Linked DNA regions of Homo sapiens: all the other regions are linked to region 1. The links are contacts of gene promoters, found by promoter capture Hi-C in blood cells and fetal thymus (Javierre and others, 2016). All regions are on one chromosome and are shown on one strand. The core of a region is centred on a gene start or on the middle of the fragment in contact, and the rest is flanking DNA. Distances in the headings are between cores, read along the strand shown.

Evidence for each region. The method cuts DNA at HindIII sites, captures the fragments that hold promoters and counts their contacts. A CHiCAGO score of 5 or more calls a contact.
Region 2: a fragment that was not itself captured here is called in contact with the fragment with the promoter of LRRC57 in region 1 in 2 of 17 cell types (fetal thymus and naive CD4 T cells); the score reaches 6.0 in fetal thymus.
Region 3: a contact is called between a fragment that was not itself captured here and the fragment with the promoter of LRRC57 in region 1, in 1 of 17 cell types (fetal thymus). The highest score is 6.9, in fetal thymus.

What each region holds. Positions count from the first base shown.
Region 1 is chr15:42,546,998-42,550,520 of GRCh38, forward strand. LRRC57 (leucine rich repeat containing 57) reads right to left here and starts at 1,796. Exons shown (of 6, transcript NM_153260.3): 1 at 1,696-1,796; 2 at 1,354-1,459; 3 at 1,109-1,247; 4 at 264-532. The coding sequence starts at 1,437. It overlaps HAUS2 (HAUS augmin like complex subunit 2), which reads left to right and starts at 1,841. Exons shown (of 6, transcript NM_018097.3): 1 at 1,841-1,968. The coding sequence starts at 1,876. RefSeq lists an enhancer at 1,632-2,101. The HindIII fragment of the contact is 3,855 bases long and covers 1-3,523 here.
Region 2 is chr15:42,917,676-42,921,198 of GRCh38, forward strand. It overlaps TTBK2 (tau tubulin kinase 2), which reads right to left and starts at 3,103. Exons shown (of 15, transcript NM_173500.4): 1 at 2,763-3,103. RefSeq lists enhancers at 2,421-2,921, 2,922-3,422 and a silencer at 2,695-3,104. The HindIII fragment of the contact is 1,036 bases long and covers 1,457-2,492 here.
Region 3 is chr15:42,268,397-42,271,919 of GRCh38, forward strand. All of the region lies in intron 2 of TMEM87A (transmembrane protein 87A), which reads right to left. Among named protein-coding and RNA genes, the nearest start is that of GANC, 3.0 kb to the right of the region's middle. The HindIII fragment of the contact is 1,786 bases long and covers 948-2,733 here.

The DNA.
Region 1 (3,523 bases), core at 546-3,045:
AGTAGTTTAACTTTTGAAATGATCTCTCCCTGTTACCTACCCCACCCTCCCCAAAACACCTACACAACTAACACATCCAGTGTCTCAACTAATTCCATGGCACTTTGGGCCTTGAAATTAGTTCAGCCTATAGAAGAAACCTCTCATTTAGCCTCTGATACTTAGCTCTATGATGGCAGTTTAGGAAACAAGAGGTTAACAGGTATCAGGAGACCTTAAAGCCACACATATGCTGTAGGAAAAAAAACCTTAAAGCTCTAGACCTGATTCTGGTTGAGGTTGAGTTCGATGACTTGCAGCTCTCCCACTGAGTCAGGTATACTTCGAATCTGGTTCTTAGAGAGATCCATCACATCCAGGTGCCGTAGGCTACAAAGTTGGGGAGGTAATGCTCCCAGTTGGTTCCCAGAGAGGCTCAGGGTCTTGAGGGCAGAGAGTTGCCCAAAGGTAGACGGCAGCTCTCTAAGGTGATTGTTGTTTAGGCTTAGCGTCTCTAGTTTTTTCAGATTGCATATCTCATCAGGCAGAACAGCTGGCAAAGAAAAATTTTTTTAAAACCTGAATGTGATAGAGCTGAAAACAACTTTGATGAAGTTTATAAAGACTATATGGCAGCCTGCTTCGCCTCTTGTTAATATATGTAAAACTCCCACATGTGCCATTTTTAGATATTGCATTTTACCAACATAGTCTTTAGAAGGTGAGGGTGCCATCAAAATGCCGGAGAGCATTTGTGTGTATAATGGGCTCCTTTTGTAAAGGGGCCCAAGGCACAATCCGACAGCAATTTTGTGATATTTGGAAGATCCTCCCCTTCTCATCCATCCCCCATTCCAAGTTAGGTAGCTTTGTTTACATTACATCCCCAAAATGTTCTTCTCTTTCAAGTCCAAATTAACCCAGTAACAATCATTATAACACCCAATCATTATAAGGCTTATTTTAGATGTAATTACAAGAAGTAGAAAGAAGGCTTCAAGGATTCCGGCATTCGCAACTTGAGCCCTCCTGCACGGTTTCATAACAAAAACAAAAATCAGCTTGTAAGAGAAAACCACCCCTGGTAACAGCTGATCACTAGCAAAAGCCTCCCTGGCGAGAGCCATACTCAGTTTGTTGTTGTTCAGGGAGAGGCTCTTCAGCAGAGTGAACTTTCCTATCAGCAAAGGCGGTAGGCTTTCGATCTTGTTGTTGGACAAGTCGATGGTCCTGAGATTGCTCGTCAGCTTCTGCAAGTCTGCGGGGAACTGGAGAAAGGAGTTCACAGCGTGGGGAATCCCGCACCGACTAAGTTCGCCGCCCCCGCCGTCCCTCTCCCTTTAAGTTCCCTGGTCGTGTCCCTCCCAGTCTCACCTCGGTCAGCCCTCGGTCCTTAAGCTGAAAGACACCAGTTTTCTGCGCCGTTTCCACATGAGCGCGGAGCGCACTGTTTCCCATCCTAGCGCCGCGGCTCAGGTCCCTGCGGGAAGGAAGCGCTGCTGTCACCGCCCAGTCCACCCGGTCGGCCTCCCGGCTGGGGCTCCTGCCCCAGCTCTCAACTCCCGCCGATCCCTGGCTCCTGGGGCCCGACCCAAGAGCGACAAGGAAGAAACGGAAGAACACACAGCCCGACCACCAAGCCCTGCCGCCTTTGCAGCTCTGCGGAGGCCAGGCGCCTCTGGGAGCCTACGGAAGATCAGGGAGCCCCGGACTCGCCTCCCACCGCTCAGCTGCCGTAAGGCTCCGCAGGTGAAGACCCAGGACCCGCAGTAGCCGGGATGCGCTCCCCGGCTTAGTCCCGGGCGGGAACGCCCTGTGACGTCATCGAGCCGCGCCGTGCGTTCGCCCTGCGATCCCGCTCACTCTTGGCGCCTTCGCGGAAGGTGCGTCCGAGCCATGGCCGCTGCCAACCCGTGGGACCCGGCGTCCGCGCCTAACGGCGCTGGGCTAGTGCTAGGCCACTTCATAGCTTCGGGGATGGTCAATCAGGTACGTGGGGGTGGCGGTGGTGTCATCAAGGGGGTGCCCAAGGTGGCAACAATATGGCTGTGAGTTGGTGCTGCTGGCTGTGGGAGTGGTGAGGGTCCTGGTTGGGGTCTGTACTAGAGTAATAAGAGCCCCTTCCAGGCAACAGCCGCGAACGTTCTGCCGTGGATGCTTGGAAAGCGGGGATCTGAGTAGATGGTGTTTAGGGTAGACTGTGTTTTGAGTGTCTGTAGGGTAAATTTGTCCCAGTCCAGTTTGTGGGAGATTAGACTGTTACCAGCCTTTTTTTCATCCAGTGATACTGCCTCTAGACTGTAGTGTAAGGGCGGGGATGGGAAATACGGGTCGTTCTGTCCCCTTGCGGAACAAGCATTTCCAACAACCCTCGTTTGTGGGAAGTGTTGAATCGTATTTGGGGCGGGAGGTGCTGGGTAGAGAAGAGCGCCAGAAGCTCTTTTTTGACATTTTTATTTTATTTTATTATTTATTTATTTATTTATATGAGACAGAGTCTCGCTCTAACGCCCAGGCTGGAGTGCAGTGGCGTGGTCTCGGCTCACTGCAACCTCCGCCTTCCTGGTTCAAGCGATTCTCCTGCCTCAGCCTCTGGAGTAGCTGGGACTACAGGCGCCCACCACCACACCCAGCTAATTTTTTTTTGTATGTTTAGTAGAGACGGGGTTTCACCTTGTAAGCCAGGATGGTCCCGATCTCCTGACCTCGTGATCCACCCGCCTCGGCCTCCCAAAGTGCTGGGATTACAGGCGTGAGCCACCGCGCCCGGCCTTGGCATCTTTAAAGGCAAAAAAAAAAAAAAAAAAAAAAAAGTATTGGCTAAAAAGATAAGACCTTGGAACGTGAATGGAGGAAGAGATTAATTTTGAGAAGGAGAGAAAAGAGACATTAACCCAAGGAGTCACGGAGTGGCAGTTTTAGGTTGGGCAAGAGGAGCATGTCGGAGGAAGGAGCCAACAGAGGGAGAAATTGAACATGTGAGGAAATAATGGAATGCAGTGACAGGAGGGCATGGGGCAAGTGGGATCAAGGGCATTGAGAAAAATGGGGAAATAAATTTTGATATATAGAGGAAGTTGAGAAATTTCACTAAAAAGAAAACAGAAAAGTTAAACTGATCTGTAAAAATCAGCACATATTAGCCGGCATGGTGGCGTACACCTGTAGTCCCAACTACTCCGCGGACCACATGGGTCCTGGAGGCTCAGATGGGAAGATGGCTTGAGCTTAAGAGATGGAGGTTGCAGTGAGATGCGATCGGGCCACTGCACTTAGCCTGGGCGACAGAGTGAGACCCTGTCTCAGGGAAAAAAAAAAAAAAAAAAGCACTACAAACATGATGGAAGATTTACGGAAAATACATAACTTTTTATAGTCAGAAGAGCCATTAGAGACTCTAATACCTTACAGTATTTTTTAATTTAAGAAACTAAGGCTTAGACCAAGAAACTTGCCCATGGTCACTAGACTGTTAAAGGAGAATTAGATCTTAGTACTCTCCCTTTTGACACATTGTATCCCCTCTCAAGATGAACTGTTATAA
Region 2 (3,523 bases), core at 725-3,224, 370 kb after region 1:
CTGGATGACAAAAAAAAAAAAGACTAGGAAATAAAACTAAATAAAATGTATTTAATTTCAAAAATCCATAAATATTGAAGGTATATTGCAATATTACTAATCAAACAGAAATAGCTCCAGCTACATTTTGAGTGTCTCTCAAAAACCTCAATAAGAACAAAAAATGAATACATGACTAGAGTAATTTTGAGTAGCATACCCTCAAATTGAAAACACTGTTTGCTATATATTTGTAAAAGAATATTTCCTATAGGATTTTTTTTTAAGTGTGGAAAGAAGTAAGCTATAGCTATATTTTCCATAATTCTCAAAGACTTTTTATTTTACTGATCAACACAGTCCTTACTAGATCAATAATGATCCTAAACACTTTCCCTTGTCATAGATTTGTATTTATTTATTTATTTATTTATTTCAAGAGATGGGGTCTTGCTCTGTCACCCAGCCTGGAGTGCAGTGGAGCGATCACAGATCACAGCAGCCTCAACCTCCGATCCACCCCCTCAGTCTCCCTAGTAGCTGGAACCACAGGTGTGAGCCACCATGCCCGGCTAAATTTTTGTTTGTTTTTTGTAGAGACAGGATCTCCCTGTGTTACTTAGGCTGGTCTCAAACTCCTGGGCTCAAGCGATCCTCCTGCCTTGGCCTCCCAAAGTGCTGGGATTACAGGCATGAGGTTTTTTTTTTTAAAGCAGCAAACATTTATTATCTCACACAGTTTCTCAGGATTCGAATCTGAAAGTGTCTTAGGTAGGTGGTTCTGGCTCAGAGTCTCTCATGAGTTGCAATCAAGCAGTCATCTGGATATGTTACTTTTTAAAGTTATAAAGCATATAAAAAAGTGGCTGCCCCCCACCAAAGTGAAATTTAAATTCCATGATCACAGCTAACTCGGATCTGTAATATTCATTTACTTTGAAAAACCAATAACTTATCATTGCCACATTTTTAGTGCACTTTTTAGAAGTAAAATACGCTCGAAAATGGTCTAAATTATGCAAACTTCCCTTCTAGTATTACATTTAAAGATACTTGAAGCCCCACATAATTGAGTTCAATTTGCTAAAGCAAATGAGGTCTAACCTCTTGAAGATTTCCTGAAGTATTAAAATAATCAACACTTAAAATCAAAAGAAGATACAACAATCTAAAGTCATATATAATGCAATAGAGAATTTACTAAATTATGTATTAACCATAGTACAAGATAATGAGCAAGATATATTATTCTCAGCCCCCTAACCAATGTACAAATTTGCATCAACTTGATATTATATATTAAATTAATGAAGTTATGGACTTTAATTTCTTCTGTGTCTAAAACTGGAAGAGGGAAGAAAGCATTTCCTAACATTCTATCATAAAAGAAAAATGTTAAGAGAAACTTTCCTTTAAAACCATGCTTCATATGTCCCCTTCGGTGTCTTGATAAAATGTTATCATACAGGAAAACATAAGCTTCTAAATCAAAGATTTCCTTCAATGTTTTCAATTTGCATAGATCACAATATAACACACACATTATTTGAAACATTTTTTGACTTCAGACAAATGCCTCAAGATTAATCATATTAAGCTATATTTGTCATCATTACTGCTTCTTTATTTAAAAAAAAAAAGGAAATAAAGCAAGCAATACATAGCATTCAATTCCCTTGATAAGTTAAAATCATTTCCCCCTTCTATCCCCAAATGAACTTTATTCTATTCCATTTAGCCAAAGGTACACAGCCAACACATCTTTGTGTTATACTGTGGCAAATCAGGGTTTAGATACCAATGCAACTATTATCAATGGCTCAGAACCAAACATTGTTAACAAAACACACTGAGTGGATCCTCCCTCTGCGTGTGTGTCTACATGTGCCCATTCATAACATGACCCTCCTACACACACAGAAACTCAATTTCTACTGAATTACAAAACATCTTCACATTATTAGAAGTGTATAATAAAACTGTCCTCTTTAATGTTCAAAGAAAGAATAATTTCTAAAGCGATGAGAGAGAAGAGTTAATACCAGGATTGCTGCTACCCATCAACTTTAATTCAAAGCAAAGTACAACTCAATGTCATTTTTACCTCTACTGTAGCCTCGACGGATACAAAATTAACTTCGCTGTAGAATAAAGTATCCTGGCATCCCAATGGATTATTTACTTCTCCGATTTGACAGAACATATACGTGAGTCTTTTGTCCCTCCCACAGCATCCCAGGGTGTCAACATCATCTCTGCCACAGCAAATGACGAGCAAATCCCTCAGATCATTACTTCAGCACCCTAAGTACAAGAAAGTCGCGGCCTTCACTGTCGTTACAACACAGCAAACAGATTCAGTAGTCCCATGTTCCTTTCCATGATAGTTGGGGAGGCGGGGTGGGAAATAAGCGCTCAGATTTCCTAGGAATCCTTCGTGTTCGGTGCTGGTACCAGAAGTGGCATGGGTACAAGTGATATGTGGGTCACCCACAGAGAGAGACGCAGAACGAAGCTTCGTGACCCTCCAAGTTCAGTGAAGACACCCAAAGCCTGGGGCAAAACGAGGCGGCAGCCTTCGGGGAAATCGGGCAGAACCAGAACGATCTCCGAGATGGAGAGTGACGGGGTCTGGCACGAGCCCCGGGCTTGCAGCGAACTGAAAGTCCCCGGTACCCCTCCCCTCCTCAGCAGGCTCGGTCACTCGGCGAGGGGTGCGGCCGGAGGAGGGGGTCGAGACTGGGGGAGGGCGGCGCCCTGGGGGGTCGGGGGGTGTGTCCTACCTGGGCCGTGGCGGACGCAGGGGTTTCTGGAGGAGGGCTCTGGTCCAGCTCAGGACCGGGACCGGCGGGGGTTAACCCTCGGCAGGCGGGACCGCCACTGCCTGCCCATCCCCCACCGCCGACTGCGGCGGGACCCGAGCGCGGCTTCCAGGGCCGGCCGGCTGGGTAGTCCCCTGGGGTACCGTCCGCGTTTACTGGCGGCGGCGGCGGCGGCTGCTGCTGCTGTTACTGCTGCTGCCGGCTCCCCCAAGCCGCTGCTCTTGTGCCAGCACCTGCTCCCCCTCCTGCCGCCGCCGCCGCCTCGTCCCCACCGCTCCCATCGCCGCTGCGGCGACTACTGCAGAGCCCGCTGACCCGACCCGACGTTATTCTCCCCCCTCGTAACCCGACACAGCCTAGCCCACCTGCCCTGCCAGCGCGCACGCCCACCTCTCCGCTACAGGTGCTGATTGGAGAGTGCGTTCCGAACTCGCAGCGTCGGTTGGCTAGTCCCATTGCCTATCACGAAGGGGGCGGAGAGTCGGGCAGAAACCGTCTCCGCCCCCCACCGGAGAATTGCCGCTATCTTCAGGTTTGCCTGAGAGGGCGAGTTACCGGGAAAGGAGCATCACAATGGCAGCGCGCATGCGCCTAGGAATTCTGGGCCTCGTAGTTCCAGCCATAGCCGCAACTCCCCGCCTGTCCCGAGGAGAGAAGTAGGGCTTCCGAGACAAGTAGTTTGCGCACATAGGTGTTCTCCTAGCGTGACAGTTAAATTGGTT
Region 3 (3,523 bases), core at 591-3,090, 280 kb before region 1:
GTAGCTCACACCTATAACCCCAGAAGTTTGGGAGGCCAAGGCAGGGGGATCGCTTGAGCCCAGGAGCTCAAGACCACCCTAGGCAACATAGTGAGAACTCATCTCTACAAAAAATGATTAAAAAGCTAGGCGTGGTGGTACATGCTTGTAGTCCCAGCTACTCAGGCAAGGGAGGCAGGAGGATCACTTGAGCCCAGGAGGTCAAGTCTGCAGTGAGCCATGATGGTACCACTGCACTCCAGCCTGGGCGACAGAGCGAGACCCTGTCTCAAAAAACATAAATAAATAAATAAATAAATAAATAGCACAAGTATTACAAAGGTATAATGGCACACTGTTAGGCTAAAGAGGGAAACGAGTGGAAACAAATTATTAAGACCCTTCAAAAGGCTAGTTGAAGAGACAAGCAATAATAAAATTAGGAATGCATGTCACAAGGCAATATTAACAACTGTTAAATGGTGTTAAATGATGATATACATAATAGTTCCACTGAGAGCAAAATTGCTATCTCAGACCTTGAAAGATATCAAGATAGAACAGAAAGAGCAATGAACGAAAAGCAAACATGGCTGTGGAAGGTAGAAATAGCAAAAGCAAAGATAAGAGTATCAGATTTTTTTTTTCAAAGCCTACCTTAAAAGAGGCCTCAAGGAAGCTCATGTTATCATGGAAGCTTCATAAAGCTCATTAAACACAGTTTGGAACACAGTATTCTAATGGATCAAGACATTATTCTGAAGACTTGGGAGGGTAAATCTGACTATATGACTGATTAGCTGGAGGAAGTCAGTATTCGCTTTTATCTTTGATTCTAGCTATGAAAGGAAAAATATACTAAAGACTCCCTACTTTATATAAATGTAATAATAAACATGACAAAAATAAACATGACTGCATTTAGGAATCTACTTTTCATTCATAACAAAAGAAGCAACCTAATTATAAGCTTCCTTTTTTTTTCTTTTAAACTGTTTTCTCAAACTAATTTTTAGATGACCAACACATTTTCAAAGGACTCTATTAGAATGTTCAAAAATTTGACCTGTTGGATAGAATTTATGGAAATGATAAAAAGCAATTGGGCTATGAACTATTCAAAATAATCCATACAGGGACAGGATTAACTAATAAAAAGCCAGTAAGAACACATCCCCCAAACAGGAGACTTGTAAGGAAATTTGGCAGCAAAAATACTGCTGTTTATGTTACAAGACAATATTTAGAACTTTAAATGAAAGGCTTTAAGAGACAATAAGGTCGGGCGCGGTGGCTCACGCCTGTAATCCCAGCACTTTGGGAGGCCGAGGCGGGTGGATCATGAGGTCAGGAGATCGAGACCATCCTGGCTAACAAGGTGAAACCCCGTCTCTACTAAAAATACAAAAAATTAGCCGGGCGCGGTGGCGGGCGCCTGTAGTCCCAGCTACTCGGGAGGCTGAGGCAGGAGAATGGCGTGAACCTGGGAAGCGGAGCTTGCAGTGAGCCGAGATTGCGCCACTGCAATCCGCAGTCCGGCCTGGGCGACAGAGCGAGACTCCGTCTCAAAAAAAAAAAAAAAAAAAAAAATGGTCCCAGCTATTCCATGGAAAGCTATATACCATCCCCCAAAAAGTACAAAATCAAAGACAACTGGTAAATATGAGAAAGCACAGAAATAACAAAGAAAAAGATAATGTTAAAGTGTCTCAGGCCGGGCACGGTGGCTCACACCTGTAATCCCAGAACTGTGGGAGGCCAAGGCAGGCAGATAACTTGAGGTCGGGAGTTCGAGACCAGCCTGGCCAATATGGTGAAACCCCCACCTCTGCTAAAAATACAAAAATTAGCCGGCGTGGTGGCACGCGCCTATAGTCCCAGCTACTCGGGAGGCTGAGGCAGAAGAATCGCTTGAACCCAGGAAGCAGAGGTTACAGTGAGCCGAGATCGTGCCACTGCATTCCAGCCTGGGCGTCACAGCAAAACTCCGTCTCAAAAAACAACAACAAAAAATAAAGTGCCTCAAATCCTCCAAAAACAATGAAATATAAACACTTCAAAATACGCAGTTAGGGCTGGGCATAGAGACTCATGCCTGTAATCCCAGCTACTCGGGAGGCTGAGGCAGGAGAATCGCTTGAACCTGGGAGGTGGAGGTTGCAGTAAGCCAAGATCGTACCACTGCACTCCAGTCTGGGTGACAGAGTGAGACACCATCTTAAAAAAAATGCAGTTGGTTTAACTTGGCAAAACACCACTAGATCAAACTACACGAGAAAAAAAGACTGGACCTAATAAAAGAATAAAACAGCAAACAGGCTGTCAAGCTATTCCAAAAGACAAGGGTTACTAGGTTACCCAGTAAACCAATCTCACAAGGCCAGTGTCAGAGTAGATTTGATCTAAATCAAATATAAGTCACTGGTCAGGAGACTGATTACATATTCATGGATACAGTATATATTCTTCAGAGAAATTCTACCTGCTGTTTTCACTCCCACTAGAATGTAAGCTCGATGAGGGAAGAACATTTTTCTATTACTTCCCCACAGTCTATGCAATAAGTAATAATTACTCACTAAACAATTGAAAAGAATAAAATTATCCAACTATGACTTAAAATTTTGCACTTCCGTGAAGACAGTATGCATAGAATCACACATCTATCATCAGGATTTTTATCCCTCATCTAGAAATAAAGCTGCCCACGATCAATCGTTCTCTAAATTAAAGCCGGTTTCAGAACTAAAAGGAAGCTTTTACTGAACACACAATGGGATACTTTAGATTCAGATACAGTCATTTTTCCACTAGACAAACTAGTTTTGTTCTACATAATCCCTATTTCTTGATAATATCTGAGCTTCCTCTTCCAAAGCAGTAAAATACTCCTTTTGTAAATAAAGGATCTACTAAATATATTCCTTCACAGCCAACGGCCTGACAAACCTAGGTCATGTTTGCAGTAAACATTTAACAAGCACACAAGAGTAAAACCTCTTTAATCTACACAGAACAGATTAAAACCACCATGCAGGGAATCAACCCCAACATAATCACAGTCATTCACTACATAACATTTCAGTAAATGAAAGACTACATATACAACGGGGGTCCCATAAAATTGTAATATCGTATTTGTACTCTACTTTCCTATGTTTAGATATACAAAAACTTACCATTGTGTTACAACCACCTATAGCATTCAGTACAGTAACATGTTATACAGGTTTATAGCCTAGGAGCAATAGGCTGTACCATACAAACTAGGCGTGTAGTGCCATCCAGTTTTAAGTATACTCTATGATGTTTGCATAATGACAAAATCACCTAAGGATGCTTTTCTCAGAAAGTATCAACTGTAAATGTAATTCGACTGAGATGTGACTGAATATTCAATGTAGTATATACAGCATATATATTAATATATACATTATATATACTAATATATAATGTCTACATAGTGTATATATGCAATGTAAACACCAGAAAAACAAGAGAAGAAAATAAAGTTCACACGAGTACTTTGAAGATGATTCAGTAA